Linked DNA regions of Homo sapiens: regions 1, 2, 3 and 4 are each linked to region 5. Evidence: promoter capture Hi-C in 16 types of primary human blood cells and fetal thymus (Javierre and others, 2016). All regions are on one chromosome and are shown on one strand. Each heading gives the region's core, a stretch centred on a gene start or on the middle of the fragment in contact. The rest is flanking DNA. Distances are from core to core; before and after follow the strand shown. Region 1 has its middle 490 kb from the start of SEMA6D. Region 2 has its middle 270 kb from the start of SEMA6D. Region 3 has its middle 530 kb from the start of SEMA6D. Region 4 has its middle 510 kb from the start of SEMA6D. Region 5 holds the start of SLC24A5 (solute carrier family 24 member 5).

The links. Contacts are between HindIII fragments. The CHiCAGO score rates a contact against its expected background, and 5 or more counts as called.
Region 1: a fragment that was not itself captured here is called in contact with the fragment with the promoter of SLC24A5 in region 5 in 2 of 17 cell types (M0 macrophages and M2 macrophages); the score reaches 5.6 in M0 macrophages.
Region 2: a contact is called between a fragment that was not itself captured here and the fragment with the promoter of SLC24A5 in region 5, in 1 of 17 cell types (M2 macrophages). The highest score is 5.3, in M2 macrophages.
Region 3: a fragment that was not itself captured here is called in contact with the fragment with the promoter of SLC24A5 in region 5 in 3 of 17 cell types (M2 macrophages, M0 macrophages and endothelial precursors); the score reaches 8.3 in M2 macrophages.
Region 4: a contact is called between a fragment that was not itself captured here and the fragment with the promoter of SLC24A5 in region 5, in 1 of 17 cell types (M2 macrophages). The highest score is 5.8, in M2 macrophages.

The regions. Positions count from the first base shown.
Region 1 is chr15:47,228,074-47,230,773 of GRCh38, reverse strand. It overlaps a transcript of SEMA6D not described here. Among named protein-coding and RNA genes, the nearest start is that of SEMA6D, 490 kb to the left of the region's middle. The HindIII fragment of the contact is 900 bases long and covers 826-1,725 here.
Region 2 is chr15:47,451,103-47,453,802 of GRCh38, reverse strand. It overlaps a transcript of SEMA6D not described here. Among named protein-coding and RNA genes, the nearest start is that of SEMA6D, 270 kb to the left of the region's middle. The HindIII fragment of the contact is 2,195 bases long and covers 297-2,491 here.
Region 3 is chr15:47,187,616-47,190,315 of GRCh38, reverse strand. It overlaps a transcript of SEMA6D not described here. Among named protein-coding and RNA genes, the nearest start is that of SEMA6D, 530 kb to the left of the region's middle. The HindIII fragment of the contact is 1,729 bases long and covers 435-2,163 here.
Region 4 is chr15:47,206,578-47,209,277 of GRCh38, reverse strand. It overlaps a transcript of SEMA6D not described here. Among named protein-coding and RNA genes, the nearest start is that of SEMA6D, 510 kb to the left of the region's middle. The HindIII fragment of the contact is 8,594 bases long and covers 1-2,700 here.
Region 5 is chr15:48,119,552-48,122,251 of GRCh38, reverse strand. It overlaps SLC24A5 (solute carrier family 24 member 5), which reads right to left and starts at 1,262. Exons shown (of 9, transcript NM_205850.3): 1 at 1,087-1,262; 2 at 216-395. The coding sequence starts at 1,207. The HindIII fragment of the contact is 6,566 bases long and covers 1-1,365 here.

The DNA of each region.
Region 1 (2,700 bases), core at 26-2,525, 890 kb after region 5:
GCCTCACCCCTAGTGTTTCTCAGGCAGTTTCTCATCCCTTTCTCAGGAATGGGGCCTAAGAATGTGCATTTATTACAAGTTCTCAGGTGTGGCCGACAGTTGCTGGCCAAGGGACTGATGACACTTTGAGAACCACTGACTTAGAAAGCAGAGTATAAAGGAAGAAATCCTGGTGACCTGTGACTCCAATGTCTATAGAAGGATGGATGAGATAGAGAAGGCAGAGTAAGAGCCAGCTACTTATAGGGCACCTACCACTTGTGTTAGGTACTGGAGATGGGAGACAGAAGGAAACACAGGCAAATCGTTACTCTCACACAACTGACACTATAGTGATGTTTATGCATTTATATGTCAGTTATTGGTGGTGCTTTCTTGTTTGAATTCTACATGCTAATTATTCTTATATGTAACCATGGAAATCTAGCATTCATGAAAAGTATTTGTATATTCAAGATATACAACTTTACATAGATTATATTCTGTATAAGAAAAATAAAACTTATGTTACAATAAATTTTATTAAATGAGAGTGTGAGGATTACACAGGCAAAAACTGGAGCAGATTAATCAAAAAATCCTGGCAGACCTATGCTTTATAGGTTAAGATAAAAGTTTTGCAGATTGCTTAATCCTCAAATATTCTTTGCCACAAAGAAGAATTTTTCTAAGAGAGGCCTGAAGTAAAAACACTTCCAAGAGAGTTGCCAAAATTAGCAAATAAAAATAAAACTTCAGTTAAATTTGAATTTCAGATAATAAACAATGAATTTTAATACAATAAAGTTTCATGCACTATTTGGAACAGGTTTATACTAAAAAGCTTTTCATTCTTTATCTGAAATTCAAATTTAACTAAGTGTTCTATATTTTATCTGGCAACGCTAACCAAAGCAGACTTTGACCAAACATTCATTCAATGAAAATATAATATGTTATCAGTCTTCTAGAGAAGATACAAGCATAGAACATATTCAGTCCCACACATAATAAAGAATAAAGGATGGTCAGACTTCAAAGGTTTTAAGAATGCAGTGGAGAAGGAGACCAATATGACTGTAATTGTCAAGGAACGGGAGCTTCATCATCCAGCAAATATGACTTCAGCTAGTCCTGCAGACATCTTAGAATTTGATTAGCCAAATGCTAGTACCAAAGGTATGCAGAAGTGAACAGTATGCATATAAAGTATAGAGTCTGGACAAATGACAGCAGACAAATGGGAAATAAAGGAGATCAGCTGTGACAGACTGAGCCAATATCTGCACACCAGCACACCCTCACAACCTGTATAGCACAAGGCATCTTGGGGCACAATTACTGACCTTTGTCAAATTTCAGTATGTATTATCCATGACCATAAACTGCATCCCCCATTTTTTTAAGACCACATGGAGAGACCTAAAAGCATAGCACACCACAGGGCACCTAGATATTCTGAGCCACTAAGACAAAGAAATAGCATCTGATGCTTGGGGTGTTTTTAATTAGAAAACAAATAGATCTTTAGTCCTAGAGCCATGAGAAAGACACCTGGGAATTTTTATCTGTGGAGAAAGAAAAAGGCAGCAGCTGGAAGAAGTCAACTCTTTATCTGATTCTAGTTTGAAATGAAGGTTCTGTATATCCTGTATCCCCAAAGCAGTAGCATAGAGCCTCATGTTGGAGTCAGTAGACCAAAGTCTAGTCTCTTTAGTATACGCTCAGTAAGACAATAAGTAAGCTTCAGTTTCCTAGGTGTAAAGTAACAGTTTGGGATTATACGATCTCTCATGGCCCATCCATTTAAAATTCAGTGATTAATTGAATAAATCATTCACTCATTAAACACTGAGAGCTGCCATATGCAAGGCAATTTTCTAGGAGCTGTGATGGATACAGAGAGAATAATTTATTCATGGTCATTTATTTGTCACTAGGTGAAACCTCATCCTTACATACAGGGACCCACTTTGGCACTCCATAGAGGGCTAGTCTCTGGCCAAGTGAACTCAGACTGCCAAGATTTGTTATAGCCAGTCTCCTGCCTCTCTTCTATATTTATTTTACTCTCTTTTCTAAGTCCCCTTAAAAAAACTCCACTTGTCTGCAATTCAGTAGGGCATCCTGGTCTCAGCCTTCCAGGGTGACAATTAATTCATCTGATAAACTCAAATATGTCAAAGCCCTAAACTAAAAAGGAGGAAGCTACATCTGAGTTACCTGCAATGTAACAGTGAACATCAGCTATTTTTTCTCTACATATGAGTGACTTCAACTAGGAACTGACTGAGATTTAACAAATAAAAGAGATAAACAAACATTTACCAAGGCTTATTGGTTCTGGGACAGAGCTATCATTTAACATCTTATTTGATCTGTGCAACCATTTTCCGACAATAGTTTATTAAGTCCTCATAGATTAACCCAAGGAAAGAAATAAGCAGTAAACTTGCCCCAGGTCAAAAGTACCAGTGCCAGGAGTAATCTACATTTGTCTTCATACAAAACCAATGTTCTTCCTGGTAAAGCAGCTGATCTACAGGCATGGTTCCAGGCTGCTGGTACGACTCAATCACTTGTATGACATATCCATCAATAAGTTAAAGTAACAAAAGGTTATATATATATGTGTGTGTGTGTGTGTGTGTGTGTGTACACACACACATATATATGAATTCTTATATATATAAAATATATGATGTATGGATTCAATTTCTT
Region 2 (2,700 bases), core at 145-2,644, 670 kb after region 5:
AGGCATGCCAGAAATTCTGGCCAAAGATGGTATCCACATGGGCTCTTGATCTCTCTTCTACGCCATCTTTTTGAAAAGAGCTATTAGAAGTGGCTCCTGTTTTGAAGTAGATCAAACCAGTGACATTTGATTCTGCCTCTTTGTGGAGTGGGGCTATTGGTTTTAGTTCATGGAAGCAAACTGAAAACTTGCAGACGTGCTGTTACTACATAAATTTGGACTCTTCCCTGACCTCGAAATACAGATAGACCCTAAGTAACATTCCCAGCTCTTTCTTCTCAGTGGGATGTAAAGCTTTTGTGCACATAATGAACTCAGATATTTTAATAGCTGATTTGTAAAATGTAATAGCTATCATTTTAATAGCTGTTGTCATAACCTCTACAGATTCACTGTGGATGGATTTCTATGTGAGGTTTAGCATTGTTGATTTACTTTTTTCATATCTGTTCTTTAAGCGATAGAAATTGTCACTTTTGTTTAAAACACATTTGTTGAAAGGGTGTTTTTTTTTTCGAAAGGGCACTTAAGTCATTTTTATTTAAAATAAATTAATTAAATTTATCTTTCTCATTTGCCTCTCCATGACCTTTTGGGAACTTGGAAATTAAATTTTATCCTAATATTTTACTTTCTAGCTTGGCAAACATTGACACTATTTTAGATTCTGAACAAAGTTGAGAAAGCACAGATTTGTTTTTAAAAATCATTTCAATTTTGAAACAGGAAGTGATAGTGATTCTGGAGATTTATCTGCTGTGGTATGAGCTTTACTTTTTCTTTTTAAATGAACTACAAATGAGAAGGTAATGCAATCATAAAACAATCAACTAAAACAAACAAACAAATAAAAAACTCATGGGGATAATTTCAACTGTAAATACATTCATTTAAAAATAAAAAATGTTCATGCTGTTATTCAATAAATACTATTATTTGACATGATACCATAATAAATTACTGAACAGAAATTGAAATATCTGTTATTAAGAAGACCAAATTGAAATTCCTATTAATGAGAATGAAACAAAGTAAAGATCTCCAAAATGTGCCAAAGAGAAGAAGTAGGTCAAACAATTTGCTATGGTAATTTAAAATGGTTTTTCATACTCAATCACATAATCATGTAATAAAAATATTCCAGAAGTTTCAGAAAATATTATTTAAAAAATAAAACAAACCCAAAAACATCCCATTAAAATTCAAGATTTTTTTCCTTAAAAATGTCAGTATTTTTTATGATAAAAGAAAGGTTTTATTATGCTATGTACACACTACAAAAACCACTAATTGCATGTGGTCTTATAATTTTTGAAGACATCACCATAGGTAGATAAAATAAATATTTATTCTTCTATGTAAAGATATAAACTGGAGCTTAGAAACATAAAGTAACTTGCCCAGATTACACAGATGCTAAGTGTCAAAGCTGCAACTTGAACACAAGTCGTGTGACTTTGAGTCCAGTTTTTTTTTTTTTTTGGTTGATAAACACACCCTTAACTCAATTCCTGAAAAAGTAGTGATGATAGGTTTCTATAAGACTGAATGGACACTGAAGAGCTCCTTGAACAAAATTATTGATTTGCCTCATCGTTATTATCATTAGTGAGTTTTGTTTTGTTTTAATTTAGTGCTTGCTGCTATGAAGAACTCAAAGAAGAGTGACGAAAATTAAGTTCTGGTCTAGGCTTTAAGGGACTAAGAGGTTAGTAGGGGAGTTATCCAGGAAAAGAAGTAGTAACTGAGGTCTACGTATGAACAACACAAGATACCAACACTAAGTACCAATGGCCTTCACAAAAAGACGCGATCAGGTGGGAACTGGAGTGAACAGCAATTCAATGTTTGGTTTTTGTCTTAAATCAACTATATTGAGGTATAATTTACATACAATAGAATGTATCCATTTTTAATGTACCATTCAATGTCCACTAAAATCAAGACCAACAGCATGTCCATTGCCTGCAAATATTCCCCCCAGCTTTTCCTCAGTCAATCTCTTCTCCCACTCTTGGCCTCACACGACCACTGATCCAGCAGGGTTTATTTAATAATTGAGAAAGTGCAAAGAGGGTAAAGGAAACAGTGAGAACAAAGGGAGGACTTAAATCATATGAATTCCCCAGTTGTTAGAATTCCAGGTTATAAACCTAAATAAAATTTTCAGACCAGGAGGGAAAAATGATTTGGGTTTGTGGGGAAAGGGACAGCCACCTGCTCTCCTATGTAACCTTTCTATTCCTTCCCCAAAGTCATTTTCTGATTTCTCACTCCTCATCCAGTCACCAACCTTAGGCCCATCCAGCACTTATATTTATCTCTAGGATAAAAATGGTACCAGTAGGGCTCTGTAGTATTGGGAAGCTGTGATTGATCTGGATCACACTGGTAGCTCCAACCACCATCCTCCATGTCCATGCATCCTCACCAAGATTCTACTCAAGTAGTTCTTAGACTTCTGGGGGTCACAGGCCTCTTTGAGGAAGCTTTTGATCGCCCAGTAGTATGCACATCAACCATTTTGCATTCGATTTTGGGTTCACAGGGCTCCTGAAACCCACTCCCAGAATCCCAAGGGTGTACTTGGTGTTCAGGTAAAATCCTTGCCATAACCTGTGTGTTTTCTGCACCTTCTTTCACTGGACAAACCAGGTAGATATATCTCATACCCTGCAAAAGGAATCAGGAAAGCCTCTG
Region 3 (2,700 bases), core at 50-2,549, 930 kb after region 5:
TCTCTTACGTGCTTTGGATGGAAATGGATGTTACCAAATCTTGGAGTTCAAACTCAACAGCCTCAAGAGTTATTCATACCTGAACAAGCTAGTGAGGGATATTAACTGGTCTCCAAATCTCTTAGGGGTCATTTGAAGACAAATTCTCTGCCCAAATGTTATTAATTAGATATTTAGCACCTTAGCTAGCTTATTTCTGAGAGCCTTTGGAGATCAAAAGGGGTGTGAAAAAGTGAAGAGAATCAAAGCTCAAACACCAATTTGAATTGAGCTGCACAATGCGAATTTACTCCAGCACTTTGTTGCAGTGTAATCTATAAATAATCCTCTGAGGTTCACTTGCCAATTAGAAATCATCACATGGCATACACCATAGATGTCAGTAGTTAATTTGCATGTCAGTGATACATTAATTTGATGAAAATTTTAAAGCTTTATGCACTATTTATATCATAATTGGAAGCACATTTAGTGTACTAATACACTGATTTTTATTGTATCCAATGTGCTTTTTAAAAGGCCAAGTTTAAATGATCATTATTTATCATTGTCTGTTTGATAGTTCGTTTCAGTTCAAGACAACACATCTGCATTTTAGACTTGAAGCTATTTTAACATTAACTGTAATCAAGATGTCTGGAAAAAAAAGTCATGTCTATGTGGGTGATAGAAAAGATGAAAATCAGGTTTACATCTAGAGGTAGCTGGTTAGATTTGGAAGTTTAATTCAGAGTTTTTGGCCTTAGCCTAACCATGCCTCCTTGGGTCGATAATTTAGCGATAATTTAGTTTTGTGGTTTTTGGGGTTTTTTTTCTCTCAACTTTTTGCTTCATTTTATTTGTTTCTCCCTGAGTTTTTCTACAGTCAAAAAGTACAGTTTTGTGGGTGGTCCCTTCTAAGAGCTGAAAATGGTTGTTGATTCAAGTACAAAGAGAAACAACCTGTGGGTGCTTAAACGTTAACTACTGTATTTAAGTGTGGTACTTAGAACAAATACTGTATTTACATAGAAATTTCAAAAGCTGCCAGCCTGGTGGGATTAGCTTGCCATGGGAATTGTCACACCTGTCAATCAGGTCTGCCAGGGTAGCAAGGGGAAAGCCAATGATAGAGAGACAGAGGAATCAAGAAAGAGAAGAGAGGAAAAGAGAAAGAGAAAGGGAAAGAGAAGTGTATGGGAGTTTCCACTACCATGGAATCACAATAACTTTTTCTACATTTATTTCCACCCTGATATCCTCAGACTACTTAAGTCTTAGTGTGCCCAGAAAATTAAAAGATTTAGTTACTTGGCTTTTCTGATTGGTGCTATAATAGTGTTTTTCTAGAAACTGAATGTCATTAAAGTCAGGGTTGGGCTTTCATTTTGGTGCAACAGATGTATGCACATGTTGACTTACTTTGAGCTAATTCCTTAGGAGTTTATGGCTTCTCCACCCAGCCAGAATACAAGTATCTTTAGATCAGAAATCTTGCCTCCTTTGTCTCATGTCACCTCAGCATTTGCAATATTAGACCTTAATAACTACTTGCAGGCTTGATTGTACTTCTAAACACTTATTCATAACAACTTTGATGATCTGCCTTCTTCCACAATTGAAAAAGAAAAACAAAATAAGACATTATGACAGAGAAATTGTATACATAAGTAGAATAAAGTAAGGTCATTTGGAAAGATAACACATATATTCATTCCAAGGAGTCTTATATGATAATAAATTAAATCTCCCATGGGCTCTGAGCTTTCTTGTGCCTAAAGCAAAAAGAAAATGTAATCAGTTAAGAAATCTACATTACCCCTGAGATTAAAAATACTAATTTATCAGAAAAAAAGCTAGGTATCAAGAGTACACACAATCATTAATTTGCATTGTCTTATATCTCCTCATTTCACAAATGTTTCATTTTTATTACCCATTAATGTTAGTCTTCACGTTACAGGAAATATAAATGAATATTGGTTATTAAAATAAAAATCTAATTCAAAGCATTTTCTTCACAATAGCTTGTGAAAGAGAAGACTAAATTTAGTATTTAAATGGGCTTATTTGAATCACTTAATCAATGTGTTTCTAGTTGCATTTAGTTATGAAAACTGAATCAAACATCATCTTTCTTAGTAAACATTTAATAAGAGCTAAACTCATAGAAGAAACTAAGCTTTTAAAATAAAATGTTCCCAAAATAAACATTGACGATATCCATTTTTACATAAATAGAACAGCATCCCCCAAAAATAAAAAAGTGAGTGGAATTAAAGCCACCATTCAAATGTAGCAAAGCAAAGACACCATGAAACTCTCTTATTTTGCCTTATGCTTTATGAAGTTAGTGCCTGATTTACCCAAATGTATATTATGTACTACACAGCTCGGACTTTTAAAGGTCAAAGACAAATTCCTCAGTGAATTTTATTAAATGAAACTTGCCCTTCTTTTCCTGTCTTAAGTCCTGACTCCAGGTTTAATAAAAGTTGTTCTTCTCTCTTCACCCCTCCCCCCACTAATTCCCACGTTTTCAACAGTAAGTTCTCTAACCAGACAATGCTGAAGATATTTGCACATAAATTTATGACATAGGAGAAAAATAACAAAAGAGTCAGACCCAACATAGTATTAATTTAAAAGGCAATTAATTTTGAAGAAGAAAAAGGGTATCAACATAAACTCAGCAAGGGCATGAATGATAGTATATAGTAC
Region 4 (2,700 bases), core at 147-2,646, 910 kb after region 5:
GTTGCAGATTCTAAGTAGATAAAAAAAGAACCAGTTTAAATTTAACATGGCATGTCTCAATCTTTTATTATCATGGAAATATTTCCCCATGTACTAATATTTTATTGAATATTTTATTCCCCATGTATTATTTTATTGAACTATACTATATATAGTTGATACTTTTGAAACATGAGATTATCCTACCTATTAGAAATAATGGAATGGCCTTGGGTCTAGCTATTGCAGAAAACAAAGAATATCTCAAAGAGTAAAAAGGAGAGATCTACAAGCTATGCATGTGGTCCAGCTGACATCCTGAAACTGGACTCCTTCTTATTAGTGAAAATTCTTCCTTTATTGTTACTCACATTTGGACAAACAGCAGAGTGAAAGAAACCACAGGCAGTATGAGGGACTCTAGTTATCCCAAGAGGTCAACCCAATCTTATTTATCAGTGAAAATACTAAGCCCAAAGATGTTATAGGACATGCCCAAGACCAATCTGGTAGTCAGAAACCGTCCTGGAATGAGAATACCAACTTCTGCCCAATGATAAGAAGAAATATTAATATTTTTGATTGACTCAAATATAATTGAACATTATTACTTTGGGGCTCACTTAAGACCATGATGAGAAATGGACAATTAATGGGATTTAAAAACTGTTTAATGTTCTTCTATGCTTTATAATTTTCATTGTTCCTGAGATCTTTATATTGAAGAAATGGAAAGCAATAGAATGTATAGCAGTATAGTGTAATGATGAGGGTAGTGGCTAGTTACTACCATCTGCTGAACACAGAAAACACAAAACAGCCTACAAGCCTCTTCTGAAACACGATTCAAAAATCACCTAGTATTTAGAAGGTCTCTTGTATCAGCAGGTTTTTAATGCTTTATTTAATATAGAGGACTAAATAGAGAAGATATATCTCACCTGTATTTTCCTAAGACTCTAAGCATAAACTTCCTTATTATAGTGATAATAAAGATAGGTAATACTTATTCGGTATTTTCTGTATCTCTAGCACCATTCTAAATGGTTTTAATACGTTAACTAATTTAATCAGTATAATAATCCCATGAGGTGGGTCATATTATTTTTCTCATTTAAAAAAAATGTGGAAACTAAAGACCAGTTGGTTTTAAAACAAGCCCCAAATCTCACAGCTCTAAGTGGCAGAGACAGGATTTAAACCTGGGTAATCTGACTCCACAGCTGAAAGTCTTTAACCGTTACAGTAGTGTGTGTGTGTGTGTGTGTGTGTGTGTGTGTGTGTGTGTGTGTGTGTGTGTGTGTGCGCGCGCGCCAGTGGCTACTGTACCTGTTTCCACAGTCACTCCCTCCTGTCCATTATTGGTACCTCTGATGTTGATTTCCCAACCTGGTGAAGTACCAGAATTCCCTAGAAGGCATCTGTAAAATGGACATCTTAGTCCTCTCCCCAGGGTACTCTGATCTCGTACTAGATGAAGTAGTTTCAGAAAGCACAGTGGTTATTCTGGAGGTACTGCTCCAAGGACCCATGTTTGGGAGCCACAATTTAGAGCCCTTTTCTCTTAGAGGACTGCCTTTTTCATGAAAAATATGGCCTAGGTGCAAGGAGCCAGAAGAGGAGGAAAGACAAATAGGGTAGCCAGGCAGATTTGCTAAATTGGAACCTTACCAGCAAATCTTCACATCCTCTTCTCAAACCATGAAATTCTTGAGCACAAGGACAAAGCACTACTTAGACTTGGACCTCCCATGATGGCTAGACTTGTGCCTGATTCATAAATAGGTTCTCAGTTAATATTTACTGTCTAGGTTTCTAGGTCAGTATTATTGGAAAAGGGTAATAAAATAATGGTTTTCCAAAGAGACTCAGAAGAGTTTTCTGACTGACAATTGCCTACTGCCCTCATGATTTTTTAAAACCCAGAAATTCTCTCACCGCATTGTAAATGGGAGATATAGCAGGAGGGCTTCTTTACCATAGTGGCACAGAGGAGGAAATAAGAAGGTCAAGCACAAATGGAGCAAAGGAGGAAGCCATGTATAAATGATGGGAAAACTGCAAGTCAATGGAGAGATTAAATATAATCAATGTTCATTTCATCATATTAATTAAATCAAGTGACTGTATTCTTTTTAAAATTCTTTCAAGGCTGGCTCCCTAGGACCCTCAAGTGAATTGAGCCATTCCTTCTCTCTTCCACTGCTGCCTAATTGCCCACCACAGGCTAATGGGCAAACAGTCCTCAGCAACCATTTATCTTTTTTGAAGTTTTCTCCTGGAGCCTCCTTCATGAGTAGTGGTAGGTTTTCCCTTGAAGTTATTTTTTCTCTCTCTTATTTGTTTTTTAAGGCATTTTTGGAGAGGCTTCTTTGCTGTTTGTTTCTGAAGCAAACCAGGAACACTAATTTGCTTTTGTTGGTTTTTGGAAGCTACCCCAGTGGGAGCAGCTTGCTGTGACCAGGATTTCGGCCTGTGGATGGTGGGGAGAGGGCTGCAGGAATGCTGTTGTGACAGATAGGAATGCCGTTGGCTAAGTGAACACATTCATACTGTAGAGCTGAGGAGCAGAATTCCTGATTTTGAGAAGATGCAGCCAATCAGAACATGCACACATGACCACCCGAGAACCATGCATTTATTATGTCTGCGTAATTGTGCACAACATAGTAACTGCTGGCTAGGATGGAAGCTACTGTTTTCCTTAGACATGGAAATGTA
Region 5 (2,700 bases), core at 13-2,512:
TGCCGGGTTCTAACTTGAAGAAACTCTGATTCACATTAACTACCAAGAGAAACCACACTCGACCAGTTCCTTAAGACACGGGACCCCACAACAAGAAGCTGGTGCTCTGCAACCAGTTGAGAAGTACAGGACAGCTGCTGAGCTATTTCAAAGACAGTCATATCTGTGTGGCACACTCTCCCAGAAGGTTACAGGGCAACTTTCCAGCCACTTACATTCACTGATGATTTCCAGGGAGGGTAGGAAGTATTCATCACAGACAATAGATATGGCCATGAACATGTAAACGATAATTAGGAAATAGATTATGATGCCTCCATCTCTGCGCTCCTGTCTCGTGAAAAACCCTTCGGGAAACTCCGATGATGGAGAAATAACACATTGGGTGCTATTTCCTGTTAAGGAAAAGGAGGTGAAAGTTTGAAGAGTTTGGAGTCACACATTCCAAGCCCACAGAGAGCTTCCTTAAGAAATCTGTAAGTGTGGGGTAACCGGGTGGAATTTTAAGGACCCACTGAAAATGTATAAAGCGCTTCTGAATATAACACAGTTGTAGAGTTTTCAAAAAATTTTTTTGGGGGACTGAAAAGAGATATCTTAATGAAATATGTTGATGATGGTGAAGAATTAAAAAGAGGAAATCATGAAATCACTCCTCCTTGTTTTTATTTCTGAATCTCTCTTCCCCAAGTAGAAACTGTATCTCTGATACATGAAGATTTCTATTGTTTATACAATTTCGTTTTCTCATTGCAGAGCCTAAATTGTTCACAGGCCTGCAAAGAATCCATCCACTGTTGCAGAGAGAATTTCTAAGATGAAAGATTTTTTGTTTTCACCAAAAAGTCTCCAAGAACAAAAACTGGAGACTTGGCCTACTATGATCTCTGTGAATTACTTTGGAGTATATTTAAGAACTTATTTGAAGGATCAAAAGTGTTTGATATCTTTTTAAATGCTAAAATTCAGAAGCGTAAGTAAAAGTGAGCCCATTGAGAATTTTCCTCTTTTTGTCCCTTCATCTGTATGTGGTAGCAGCAGCAGCAGCTGCTGCTGCAGAGCTAACTGACCCCAATGTCCACCTACCTGTGGCCCTTGGGAGACGTTGGGGCAGGGAGGTCCCTGAGAGAGGCAGATGTGCAGTGGCCCACAGGATGCCGAGCAACAGAGCCCTTCTCGCCCATGTTTGGCCCCCTTTTGTCTGCATTTCTGCTGTGCTCTTACTGCAGCGTGCAGCTTCAGGAAGGGAGAAGAGGAGGATTAAACTGGATCATGTGAGGAGTCTCCTTCCTGCCCAATACCCTGCCCAGGGCACATCTCAGCAAGGCCAGCACAGGAGAAAGGGCGAGTGTAGCCAGTCAAGCTTCTCTGATCAGGAGACCCAATCTCCAGGGAGGCCGGAGGAGACGGAGGAGAGCTGACAACCATTGTCTATAGCTATTTCCATGGCCTACAGTCTCTAAGGGCAGATTAAGGCAGCTTGTACTTTATGAAAATGTGTGGTTTTATTTAATGTCTTCATACTGGCTCTGCTTTTGACTTTCTCTAGATTTGTAAAAAGTTGGGTTTGCAACTGCTTCCCATCTCTCTCCAGCCCTTTCCCCTAGAAGTTGTTTGGGTTGATATTAATATATGTACATGCTTTGGCTAGCTCGGCATCCTTTCATATTTCTGTTTTAGCCTCTCATCTTCATCTTCAGTTAGGGCCAAAGGGAGAAAGGCCAGTTAGGGCATCATTGCAATCGTCTAGCTGAGAAATGATAGTGGCTTGAACCAAGGCTGTGGCAACGGGGATGGAGAGTAGCTGACAGTTTCAAGAATTATTGAGATGGAGTGGATGCTATTTGATCATTGATAGGCTGTGCTTTCTGCCAGAGGGAGCTATCTAAAATGCAAATTTGACGTACAAGGTAGTGTTTAAATATAGACTACTATCTTCCCTATGCTAACATTTATGAGGCTTGCCAAGATATTTAGAACTTTTGGCAGTGTAGTAACCTATAGCTAATAGCACAGGCTATGGAACCAGACCACATGATTTGAGCCCTAGCACTGCTACTTACTAGTTATGTGACTTTTGGCATGTTATTTAACCTTTCTGCTACACAGTTCTGCTATCTGTAAAACAGGGATCACCTGTATTTGGGTTGTGGTAAGAATTACAAAAATGAACGCAAATAATTTGCTCAGAACGACCTCTGGCTGACGTCTTCATTCCTTCCTTTCTTTTTCTTTGTTTTGTTTGTTTTCCTTCCTTCCTCCCTTCCTTCCTTCCTTCCTTCCTTCCTTTCTTCTCCTCCTCCTCTTTCTCTCCTTCCTTCCTTCCCTCCTTCCTTCCTTTCCTTCGTTCCTTCTTTCTTTCTTCCTTTCTTTTCTTTTCTTTTTCTTTCTTTCTTTCTTTCTTTCTTTCTTTCTTTCTTTCTTTTTCTTTCTCTTTCTTTCTTTCAATTGAAATAGAAGCGTTTTTGTTCATAAAAATTTTTGTAGTTTTGCAACTTTCATGGTTCCTTTGCTTTGCAGAAAAAACACAAAAATTGATATGCCTAGTAAGTTTTCTATTTAGAAACTAGCTTTATCTGATGGAACGGAGTAAGTTGCTTCCTGATGTTTGTGATCTTGGGTCGGAAGAAAGTCTCAAAAACTACTTTTTTTTGTGGGAATTGGTATCCATTATAAACCTCTCCAAAACTGTCATTTCTA